Linked DNA regions of Homo sapiens: all the other regions are linked to region 2. The links are contacts of gene promoters, found by promoter capture Hi-C in blood cells and fetal thymus (Javierre and others, 2016). All regions are on one chromosome and are shown on one strand. The core of a region is centred on a gene start or on the middle of the fragment in contact, and the rest is flanking DNA. Distances in the headings are between cores, read along the strand shown. Region 1 has its middle 15 kb from the start of LINC01581. Region 2 holds the start of RGMA (repulsive guidance molecule BMP co-receptor a). Region 3 has its middle 35 kb from the start of LINC01581. Region 4 overlaps LINC01581 (long intergenic non-protein coding RNA 1581).

Region 1 (2,865 bases), core at 218-2,717, 1.0 Mb after region 2:
TTATGATGGGGGTTGTTGCCCCCTCTGTCTCCTTCTCCCCAGGCCTCCTACTTCCTTGAGACATAACAATATTGGAATTAGGCCAATTAAGTGTTTGAGGGAAAGGAAGAGTACTACATCTCTCACTATTTTCTTTTTAAGTTCTGGGGTACATGTGCAGGATGTGCAGGTTTGTTACATAGGTAAACGTGTTCCATGGTGGTTTGCTGCACCCATCAACCCATCACCTAGGTATTAAGCCGGGCATCCATTAGCTCTTTTTCTAATGCCATCCCCACCCCCTGCCCTCCCCTGACAGCCCCCAGTAAGTGTTGTTCCCCTCTCTGTGTCCATGTGTTCTCATTGCTCAGCTCCCTCTTATAAGTGAGAACATGTTGTGTTTGGTTTTCTGTTCCTGTGTTAGTTTGCTGAGGATAACAGCTTCCAGCTTCATCCATGTCCCAGTAAAGGACATGATCTTGTTCCTTTTCATGGCTGCATATTTTTCCATGAATTGATTAAGCTTACTAAGGAAGGCATGTCAAAAGCAGAGGTAGGCCAAAGGCTAGGTCTCTTGTATCGGTTAGCCAAGTTGTGAATGCAAAGGAAAAGTTGTTGGAGGAAATGAATAGTGCTATTCCAGTGAACACGTGAATGATAAAAAAGAAAACAGCCTTATTGCTGATATGGAAAACAAGCAGCCAGAGAAGTAAGAAGAAAACAGGATAGATGAAGTGGGAAGAGGACTTTAGAGAAGCAGGGGTTGCCAACAGCATCAAATGTTTCATAGTAGTCTACTCAGATGAGGAAGTGTTTGTAAGATTGCAGAGGTAACACCATGATTTAGCAAAAGCAGTTGTTAGTGGTGTTACTGGAAAGGGGTCCCAATCTAGACGGCAAGAGAGAGTTCTTGGACCTTGCTCATGAAAGAATTCCGCGAGTTCATAAAGTGAAAGCAAGTTTATTAGGAAACTAAAGAAATAAAAGAATGGCTACTCTATAAACAGAGCAGCTCTGAAGGCTGCTGGCTGGCTATTTTTATGATTATTTATTGATTGTATGCTAAACAAGGGGTGGCTTATTCATGAGTTTTCCCAGAAAGGGATGGGCAATTTCTGGAACTGAGGGCTCCTCCCCTTTTAAGACCATTTAGGGTAAGGTCCAAACATTGCCATGGCATTTGTAAGCTGCCATGGCACTGGTGGGAGTGTCTTTTAGCATGCTAATGCATTATAATTAGCATATAATGAGCAGCGAGGATAACCAGAGGTCACTTTCATCACCATCTTTGCTTTGGTGGGCTTTGGCTGGTTTCTTTACTGCAAACTGTTTTATTAGCAAGGTCTGATAAAAGTGACCTATATCTTGTGTTGACCTCCTATGTCATTCTGTGACTAAGACTGCCTAACTACCTGGGAATGCATCCCGGTAGGTCTCAGCCTCATTTTACCCAGCCCCTATTCAAGATGGAGTCACTCTGGTTCAAACACCTCTGACGGTGGCAGAATAAATAAGATAAAGAAATTGGGTACCAAACTAAGACTTCCAGAACACAAAAGCCAACAGCCAATATTTAGTTTTTAGATCCTCGCTCCAGTATTGGACCCTATTGTCTACTCCCTCCTTCATGGAAAAGAGATGAAAAGTTCAGAAAGGCAAATGAGGCAAAAAGAGAAGAGGCAAAGAGGAAAACCAGTGCAGAATAGTTTATGAAAAGGGCATAAAGTTAAAGGTTTCATGGATTGAGCATTTTGTATGTGTGTGTGAAATACACACTGGAAGTACAACTGTGTGCTCAGGGTGGGCGGGAAGAAGAGATGAAAGTTTGAAGAGAGCAACTGAAGGGCTCTGAAAGGGAACACGACAAGGGTTGTGGATTTTTAGGGTATTGAAACAGCCTTTGCAAAACTTATATCAGTGAGAAAATTATAACTGTAAGCTAAGCTAACCCACCCCCCATCTTGCCTTTTCCTGAACTGTTCCTGGGCTACAGGGCCAAGCTAACTTTGGAAGACATTTAGGCTTCATTTTAAATGATAATAGGCCTCGCCCAAAACTCTACTTCTTTTGTAAAACTAATAGGAGGCCTCCAGGCTGAGGGAAGGAGAGGAACCTGGGTCCTGCTAAAGTGCAGAAATTATTCAGAGGTTATAAGATATACAACTTCCTTCAATTACTCCTACAAATAACACCGCTATTGTAGATTGGCCTTTTGAGATCTCTTTCCAGGTTTTTTTGCATGTCTGACCCCTACGACTCCACCTGGACCCAATGGCTGCATCTGGACCGACAACCCCACTCCTGTGGCCTCACCCAGAAGCAATTCAGCCTGCAGGAGGACAGCATCAACCCCCTATGATTCCATCTCTGCCCCAATCAATCAGCAGTAAGCACCTGTTACCTGGCCATTCCCACCCCTTCTCCCAAACTGCCGTTAAAAAACCCCTAACCTACAAGCTTTGAACAACGTGATTTGAGTACGAACTCTATCTCCCATGTGGCATGGATGGCCTTTTGTCTACTAAACTCTTTCTCCACTATAATGTCATGGTCTTTCTTTATTCAGTGGACAGGAAGAAACCCCTGGGCAGTTACAGTATCAATCTGCACCAAGTTAATTTGCATAGTAGAGTTAAAAAACCCAAGCATTTTTTCTAGAAGAGGTAGGCTATTAACAAAATGGGTACTGAGCAATTAAGAGAATCCTGCTCAGTACTATGATCTTGGTCTTCACCCAGGTATAAAGAATCTCTGTGACATTGGCTATCTCTTGAACTTCATTTCATTATCTGTAAATTGAACCAAAAGCTTCCTCGGCTCCTTCTCAGCTCTAGCAAGCCTATATCTATAACTTGCTCAAAATCACACAGACATCTCAAGCTGTCT
Region 2 (2,873 bases), core at 162-2,661:
GCATGCCACTCAACACGACCCGCAATTTCGTCCCCTGAGCTCAATGTGCTGAGCATGGGAGGTCGGGGTTCTCCCTGGTACCGTCGATACTCAGAGAGCTTCTGTAGCCTCCTTCCTGGAGGCGAGGGCTGGTTCCCGCCTCTCCACCTTGTGCGGGAGACTACTTTGAGAACACCCAACAACTTCGCAGCCTAAGAGGAATGCACAGCTCACCACTTCCGCTAGATGGCGCTACTTCCCCTACTCCGCCCGCGAGACACCCAATTTATAAAATAAATACAACCCAACACCTCCCAAAACCACACCACATAATAGCAGCTCACAGGCTCCCATTAGAAATCTCAATTTGGGAGAACTGATTCTACCTCCGAGCAAGTCTAATACAATTACATTAATAAGACGCAATCCCGAATTGCACCCGAGCGTCCCCCACACCCGCCCTCCCATTGAATACACCTGTCCCCCATGCCCGGGCTTGTACCCTGGGTTGAGCTGCGGCGCGAGCCGGCGCTGAATCGTCGCCGTGCCCTCCCGTCCACTTAGGAAAGCCGGGGCGGCTTGGCAATGGGCATCCTCGGCCCTCAATCCAAGGTCCGCACCTTCCCGTACGCCGGCGCGCCGAGGCAAAGGGCCGCCGGGACGCGAGCCCACGCGGTGCACTGCGCCGACATCCCCGAGGGCAGGAGATGGCCAGGCAGCTCCGCAGCCGGGCGTCGAGCGGGAGGCGGGGGCCCGGGCGGCGCGGGCCAATGGGGGTTCACGGCGGGACAGTCGGGTGGCCGGCTCCGTCCGGGGCTCCGCGAGCCGGGCTGAGGGAAGGAGCTCCCAGCCCGCACACGGTGTAAGGGACGTGTGCCGGGTCTGCCCAACCACGCGCGCTGGCGGCTGCCCGGGGGAGAGTATTTTAGGAAAAAAGAACAAACACCAAACCACAAAAACTTTCCTGCTGCCAACAGCTAAAGCGATAGAGGCGCAGCAAAGCTCCAAATGTGGGCAAGATGGGAGCAAGATGAGACGCGGGGCTAAGGAAGACCAAAGCAGCGCCGTGGCCCCGGCATGTGTCGGCGGCGCCTCGGAGATGTCAGAGCCGGGTCTGCCCGGCTCCCGACCCGCGCTTACCTTGGCGGCTGCATGAGCCCCTGCGGCCCGCGGGGGGTGGCGCTGGCGGGGCTGCGGGAGAAGAGGGGGTGTCGGGGCGCCGCTCGTCTGCCCCGGGGCAAGGTGGGAGGGGCTCCGCTGGCGCTGGTCCCCGCCGCCCCGGCCGGCTCAGCAGCGGCCCGGGGAGCGCCTCCTGCTCCCGGGCTGCATGCCTGCGAGCGCCTGGCGGAGCCGGCCCGGGAGCGAACGGCCAGTGCTTCCCCGGCCCAGCGGCTCGGGCGGCGCAGCCAGCGCTCGGGAGACAACTGCAGAGTGGGGCGGCCGGGACCAGCCCCCTCCCTCGCCCGGCCCCCGCCCGCCGCCGAGCGCGGCGTCGCGAGGTTCGTTTGCGCGCCGAGGGGAGGGGGCGGGCCGGGCGCCCGGGCCGCGGGCGGGGGGCGCGCGCGGGCGGGGCCGGCAGGGAGGGGCGGGGAGGAGCGGGGTGCGGGCTCGCGTTGCCCCGCCCCGCCGCGGCCCCACCCTCCCGCATCAGCACCGGCTGGGTGGGTGCGGAGTGCGCCAGCGGCCAAGTCAAGACTCCTTGAATGCTCAGGTTAGGGGGCGCGGGCGGCAAGTGCGGCGACTCCCCGGGGCGCCTCCAACTTTCCGAATCGCCCGCAGGGTTGCGGTGGAGCGCACGGTGTCCTTCAGTTAGGCGGTGGTCGAGGGGAGTTCCTCTGAGATTTCTGGAGAAGGCGGTTACATCCAAGACAAATGCTGTTGCGCTCTGCGGAGACGCACCTTTGTTCTATAGAGATTTTGTTGTTGTTTAAGAATCTTCCTGAAAAAACTAATACATATGTATTACATGCTAACACACGCATACATTCTTGCGTAGAATTGTACATAACTCAGGAGTGTCTAGAGTGAAAAGACCGTATCGCACTCCCTCCCACGGCCGCGGCTCTCCCACGGCCGCGGCTCCCCCGCGGTAACCTTCGGTCAGGGTGTGCTCTGCCGCGGTTCTTTCCAGTCTCTGCGCTTTTACATGCACACGCACAGATTGCGAGTGGAATCTCCTGGGCTTTTCAAAAGAATGTTTTCAACATTAAGCGCATGCACACAGTGGCTTGAACACGGCCACGTCGGGAGCAGTAAATCCCCAGAGGCTCCGGGAGCCCAGGGAAGGACCCTTGCTGTGAAACAGCAAAGAGCCACCCAATCGCCATGTGTGGATCTGAAACCCCAGCTGGAGCGTGAAGTCGGTCTGGTTACACAGCTCAGGCCCAAATTAGCACTGCACGGTTAGAGAGATTTGCCAGTACATTCTAGACAGGGTTATGACCTTCCCCTTCTTACAGAACAAACTGTCTTGAATTTTGATATGATGAGAACTCTGGATTTGCAAAATGAAAAGGTATCGTCCGCATTAAAACACGATCGTTATTTATGCGTGTGGTCTTCAGAGATGTGGTTTTAACTCAATATTCTCCGTTTTATTTGTCAAGTGTATTTGTATAATCTATAGCTGGGATATAAATAAAATTAAGTGGTTTAGCAGGAAGGGATTGGGGATGGGTTTCTAGAATTAGCTCTGACCTTCGGCAAGTCATCTAGCTCTGCTGGGCCTCAGTTTCCTCATCTATGAATAGTAGGGTGTGTGTGTGTGTGTGTGTGTGTGTGTGTGTGTGTGTGTGTGTGGTCTTCCTGCCCTGACATTCTGTGCCCTGACATTCAGTGAATAACCAATTTCTTCATCTTTCATAGCTCAGCTCCAACATCTTCCCCACCCTCTA
Region 3 (3,227 bases), core at 236-2,735, 1.1 Mb after region 2:
AGGGCAGACCTGATGACAATAAATTCTCTCAGGTTTGTTTGTCTGAGAAACTCTTTATTCTTAACTTTTGAAGGACAATGCTGATGACTATAAATTTTCACTTTGGCTTTTTTTGTCTTTCAACACTTTAAATATTTTATTCCACTCTTCTTACTTGCATGGTTTCCAATGAAAAGTCAGCTGTAATTCTTAACATTTGTCCTCTACTGATAAGGCATTTTCCCCCCCTCTGGCTTCTTTCTACATTTTCTTCTTGTCTTTGGTTTTCTGCAATTTAAATAGTATATGCCTAGCTGTATTATTTTGGTATTTATTGTGACTGGTGCTCTCTGAGCTTCCTGTATTTCTGATTTTGTGTCTCTCAAAATTCTTGGTCATTACCACTCAAATAACAATATCACTGAAATATTCTCTCTCCTTTCTTTCCTTCTGGCTTTCTCTTTTTTCTTTCTAGCATTCCAATTGTGCTTACGTTGCACATTTGGAAATTGTCTCTACAATTTTTTATTGTTTTCTTCTCTCCTCTCTTTCTCTTTCTCCTTTCTTCTCTGTTTCTCTCCCTGTGTTATTCCCCCTCTCTCGCCTTCCTTCTTTCCTTCCTTCCTCCCTTCATTCCTTCTTTCTTTTATCCTTCCTTTCTTTTTCAGTTTTTGCATTTATATTTAGGATATTTCTTTTGACTTATATTCAAGAATATTGGCTCTTTTCTCAGCTATACCTAGTCTACTGGTGAGCTCTTCATAGGCATTCTTTATTTCCATTATAGTGAGTTAGAGAGAGGAGACAGAGAGAGAGACAGAGACAGAGAGAGAGAGAGAGACATCTAATTGTGTAATTGTCTGTTTCTCTTTCCAGTTTCATCCATTTTTGTTTCATGAATTTTGACACTCCATTATCAGGTGCATAAACATTCATGATTGTTATATCTTCTTGATAAATTGAGCTTTTTATTATTATGAAGTGACTTCGTATATCCCTTTGGATATATCTTTGCTCTGTAATGCAGTTTGTCATATATTAGTATAGTCATTCCAGCATTATTTTTATTAGGGTTGGCATGGAATATATTTTTCTATCATTTTAACCTATTTGTGTCTTTGTAATTAAAGCACGTTTCTTATAAATAGCATACAGATAAGTCTTGCTTATTTTATCCATCTCACAACTTCTGACCTATAATTGAGGTATTTAGACATTTTATATGTAAAGTAATTGTTAAAATGGTAGGCTTAGCCTGGCGCAGTGGCTCACGCCTGTAATCCCAGCACTTTGGGAGGCAGAGGCGGGTGGATCACGAGGTTAGGAAATCAAGACCATCCTGGCTAACACGGTGAAATCCCGTCTCTACTAAAAATACAAAAAAATTAGCTGGGCATGGTGGCGGGCGCCTGTAGTCCCAGCAACTTGGGAGGCTGAGGCAGGAGAATGGCGTGAACCCAGGAGGCTGAGCTTGCAGTGAGCCAAGATCGCGCCACTGCACTCCAGCCTGGGGTACAGAGCAAGATTCCGTCTCAAAAAAGAAAAAAATAATAACTTTGCGGGGCCGAGGTGGACAGATCACAAGGTCAAGAGATCGAGACCATCCTGGCTAACATGGTGAAACCCCGTCTCTACTAAATATACAAAAAATTAGCCAGGCGTGGTGGCGGGCGCCTGTAGTCCCAGATACTCAGGAGGTTGAGGCAGGAGAATGGCGTGAACCCGGGAGGTGGAGCTTGCAGTGAGCCGAGATCATGCCACTGCACTCCAGCCTGGGCGACAGAGCAAGACTCTGTCTCAAATAAATAAATAAATAAATAAATAAATAAATAAATAAATAAATGGTAGGCGTAAACCTACCATCTTGCTATTTGTTTTCTAACCATCTATTATTTGTGTTCTTATTCCCGTTCTTTTGCTTTATCTGGAATTAAATGATTTTTTTTATGGTTCCACTTTATTTCCTTTCTTGACTTACTAGCCATGACTCATTATTTTGTTACTTTGATGGATCTTTTAGGACTTATAGTATACATTTTTATTTAATCGCCATCTTACTTCAAGTGATATTATACACCTTTGCATGTAGTGTAAGAAACTTATAACATTGTATCTTCATTTTTCCCCTCAACTTTATTGTTATTGTTTGTATACACTGTACTTCCACATATATTCTAAACTTCCACACTACATTGCTATTACCTTATTTAAGCAGTCTATTATCTTTTAAAGGATTAAAGTATTTTTAAGTTTTATATATTTACATTTATAGACAACTTTTTGGTGTTCTTTATTCACTTTTGTAGATTGACATTTCTCTCTTGTGTTTTTTTTCTTCTGCCTGAAGAATGGTCCATTAACATTTCTAATAATGCAGTCCTTCCAGTGATAAAATTTTATACATTTTGTATTTCTGGAAAAGTGTTATTCACAGTTGATACTCCCATTATATTTCAATTAGATCATGCTGTTAGGCACATATGCCTTGTCTTTTGTGTTTTCTTTTCATCTTTTGATGTCATTTTGTCTTTCAGTTTTGATATTTTTGCACTGACTTATCTTGTAGCTCACCAATTATCTGTTCTGTTGTGTCTAATCTTCTATTAAACCTATAAATTAATTTCTTACTGTCAGATACAGTGTTGTCAGTTCTAAAGTTTCAGTTTACAGATCCTGTACTCTATAAAACTTGTCATATTTTCCCACTTTTAAAAGCATTTTTATCATAGTTATTTTAACTTGACTATCTGGATCTCCTGTGGGTTTTTTCTATGGTTTTCTAAAAATTTTATTTTGGTCAGTTGCTCCAGTGCTTCAAATGGGAAACCTGAAATTCAAGATGACATATTATAGAGGTTATGGGTTTTACTGTCCTCTTCCAACAAAAGTGCTATACTTTGATGTTTCTCCCCTCCAACCTCATGTTAAAATTTTGTTCCCAATGTTAAAGGTGGGTCCTAATGGATGTGTTTTGGTCATGGGAGCTGATTCTCTCATGATTAGATTAATGATCTTTCTCAGGAGTAAGTGAGTTTCCACTCTATTAGTTCCCACAAGAGCTGATTGTTAAAAAGAGCCTGGCATCTCCCCCACCTGCTTGCTTCCTCTCTTGCTATGTGATGTCTGCATAAACCAGCTTCCCTTTGCCTTCCACCCTGAGTGGAAGGGGCCTGAGGCCCTCACAAGCAGCTGAGCAGATGTCTGCATCATGCTGTCTGCATCATGCTTCTTGTACGGCCTGCAGTACT
Region 4 (3,053 bases), core at 526-3,025, 1.0 Mb after region 2:
TCTCAAGGTCTACCTAGTCACCCTGCCAGATTCTGATGATGGCTGGATATTCTTGATTTATTTTACTCTTGGCTCCTGTCTGAGGTGGAGTTCTCCAGGACACAGACACTGAGATGAAAGTAGGTGTGAGAGAGGTTTACTGGGGAAGAATACCTGTGAAAAGAAAAGGATGGAAGCAGGATGGGGCAGGTGGGGCTGTCACAGTATTGGGCACGTCTCCACCAGCCTTGAAGCATCTTCAAGCAAAGATTGAAATTTCCTGAGGGGCAGAACTGGAATTGGACAGCCCCTTGCATCATTATGACATATCATATAATCTATGTTTCAGACTTAATTAAAACATAAAGGGATATATCTTTTTGATAATGCTACAAGTTACCTTTCCCCACAATAGCTACTTCTTTTCAGGCTTTTTCCTCATGCATTGGTCGGGAATCACCTGCAAAGGATCTGCCCCTGGCTATCCCCGCCTTGCTGGGTCATTGACCAGGGACACCTGAGAATAGCAAGGCCTCAGCTGTCAGGTAACTACAATGCTGGTGGCTGAGCAGCTGGGACAGAACCAGGTCAATGCGTCTCCATGTCTACCTCGGCTCCCAGCCTCTAGATCTTTTTGAGAAAGTCACTTTTCACCCAGATTTGATGGGAGCTTGCAAGTAAACCTGGAAACAGAGGTAGGCTAGTTAAGCTTAGGTATCTACATCTTTTTAACAAAAAATTAAAGAGCAATAAGGTGAAGTGACATGCCCCAAAGCATACAAACTTGTAAGGGGCAGAACCAGAATAAAATAAGATAGAGCTGCGGAGCTACTTACTACACAGTTTCCTTTATAAAACAATATTTGCCAGCTGTTATCAAGGCTGTTGACAATGTGCCTGGCTCTAGGCTACAAGCATTATATATAGGCATATCATTTAATCTTCACAATCACAGTGAGATAATATTCATAATCTCTATGTCACTGATGAGAAAATGGACTCTTGCAGAGGATAAAGGATTTTTCCCCAAGTACATAGCCAGTCGTGAGAGAAATAAGACTTGGACCCAAGTGTGGCCCCAGCACCTGTCACCTTTAATAGCATGTTATCCTTCCTCACCATGACCATCATAGCTGTGCTTGTGTATTTCAAATGTAAGTGCCCAATTACCTGGATATTGTTTCAGAGCATGTTCTTTTGGCTTCTGTCAAATGTAACATTTCGAGGGCTAGCAGTCCAGGAAACTGTTTGTATACTACAAAACACTAAATGAAGGAAAATGGCCACCTTCTATTTTAAGAAAGATAGCTCAGTTAAACACACCTTAAGTTTGCAGCAAAAAGCACACATTCACATCTTTCTAGACACCAAAAAAATGATGAAAATAAGAAAACCATGTCAGAGATTCTTAAAGCACAAAATACTGTGTAGCATGTGAGCATGCCAGTTTCCTAATACCTGTTATACTGATGCAATAATAAAATATTGTTAGTTATAAGTAAATTGGATTCTCTTCAGCTTTTGCAGCCAAGATTGACCTCTTAAGCTAAAGGCTTGGTAGGCCTGAGACTTTAATAAACACTCACCGATGAATGTTCACATTCCTTAACAGTATTATTTTTCACATCAACCAGAAAGCACATCCAACAGTCACCAAATTTATTAACATCTTTTAATAGCAATCTGCATATGGTATAAAGGTGAAACAAGTGAACTTACAAAGATGCAGAATTCTGATCAACCACTTTCATAGAAAGATCTACATGTTCTTCAAGGTTGGTCTCACAGCAAAGCAGGCAATAGAAAAGAGGTATTTGCCAAGCATTGATAAGAAATCAACCCAAACTTAAAAATGGAGTAGACATTTCAGGGGTTTACTATATTAGCATGATCAGAAAAGTAAAGACTGAAATTATTGTGGGGAAAGGTAACTTGTAGCATTATCAAAAAGATATATCACTTTATGTTTTAATTAAATCTGAAACAGATTATATGACATCTCATAAGACTGTTAAAGGGTTACATTTGTGCTTTAAAGTGCAAGAAATAATTCTGACTGTTTAAAATGAATTCTCTCCTTTTTATGTTTTTACTAACTCTATCCTACAAAGTATGTATTTCTAAAATTAAGAACTCACAAATCCTCTTCTGGGTTCATTCTATACATATGTTTATTTCCCTTTAATTTGATGGGGCCAAGCTGTGGTGAAAACAGCTCTTCCTCCCCCAAAAAGGCAAAGATCAGCAGTAGGACCACACGGCAAAACTCTGGTAACAGCCAACAATATCACAGTGCCATTTAAGCAAAAGATTCCATCACGCTAAAGCGAGTAAAGCATTTTCTCTAAGGTGGATGCACAGATACCCCATTGTCCCTATAGTATACCATGGAGACCCTGCATAGGAGGACTCTGCGTGTGTTCCTTTTCATTTTAGGCACGATTCTAAAAAAGCAAGTCTCTGATTCCTGCTTACTGACACACCCAGACCCTTGCCCTGTACTCTAAGCATACGGTCTCTTCCATGAGCACTCAGTGAAGAGCTATGTTTAACTATTAGTCCGCACCATGGCATGAATAGTGAACCCCTTGAAGTTTGAGATTATGTCTAATTTCCCTATACATCATCTGAACATAGCTCCATTACTTGCATACACAGATTACAAAGAGTTCAATGAATGTTTGCTGACTGGGTGTGCTGGGAGCTAGTAAATTGAAAGGAGCTACAAAAGACAACGAGAAGGAGAATGTGATGTCATCAATCTGATGAAAATGGAAGGCAGAGGAAAACCATTAGAAGTGCTCACAAGAACTCTTTTCTTTAAAAGGAAACATGTCTAGTTAGAAATTTAGAAAACAGGTACATGTTAACTAAAAATAAATTGAAAGCTTACCCTCAATCCTGACACTTGGAGGTAATTTAGCGTGTTAGTAGTTGTTCCTCATGTTGGTATTTATGGTTTGGTCTTATTCTCTCTTTTTCTCTTGTGTTTTTATAATACTGAAAGAATATGTTGTACTTCATCCTTCTTCCCCTTATACTACATATTACAAGCATCTATTCATGTTATTACA

Evidence for each region. Contacts are between HindIII fragments. The CHiCAGO score rates a contact against its expected background, and 5 or more counts as called.
Region 1: a contact is called between a fragment that was not itself captured here and the fragment with the promoter of RGMA in region 2, in 10 of 17 cell types (M2 macrophages, neutrophils, M0 macrophages and 7 more). The highest score is 9.4, in M2 macrophages.
Region 3: a contact is called between a fragment that was not itself captured here and the fragment with the promoter of RGMA in region 2, in 1 of 17 cell types (erythroblasts). The highest score is 5.4, in erythroblasts.
Region 4: a contact is called between a fragment that was not itself captured here and the fragment with the promoter of RGMA in region 2, in 2 of 17 cell types (M2 macrophages and M0 macrophages). The highest score is 5.9, in M2 macrophages.

The regions. Positions count from the first base shown.
Region 1 is chr15:94,121,912-94,124,776 of GRCh38, forward strand. No RefSeq gene overlaps it. Among named protein-coding and RNA genes, the nearest start is that of LINC01581, 15 kb to the left of the region's middle. The HindIII fragment of the contact is 1,934 bases long and covers 501-2,434 here.
Region 2 is chr15:93,087,800-93,090,672 of GRCh38, forward strand. It overlaps RGMA (repulsive guidance molecule BMP co-receptor a), which reads right to left and starts at 1,412. Exons shown (of 4, transcript NM_020211.3): 1 at 1,120-1,412. The coding sequence starts at 1,133. LOC101927025 (a long non-coding RNA gene) reads left to right here and starts at 1,415. Exons shown (of 5, transcript XR_007064769.1): 1 at 1,415-1,478. The HindIII fragment of the contact is 10,450 bases long and covers 1-2,873 here.
Region 3 is chr15:94,141,530-94,144,756 of GRCh38, forward strand. No RefSeq gene overlaps it. Among named protein-coding and RNA genes, the nearest start is that of LINC01581, 35 kb to the left of the region's middle. The HindIII fragment of the contact is 3,948 bases long and covers 1-3,227 here.
Region 4 is chr15:94,089,297-94,092,349 of GRCh38, forward strand. The region is part of intron 1 of LINC01581 (long intergenic non-protein coding RNA 1581); the gene reads right to left. The region is part of intron 1 of LOC105369203 (a long non-coding RNA gene); the gene reads right to left. Among named protein-coding and RNA genes, the nearest start is that of LINC01581, 17 kb to the right of the region's middle. The HindIII fragment of the contact is 2,179 bases long and covers 687-2,865 here.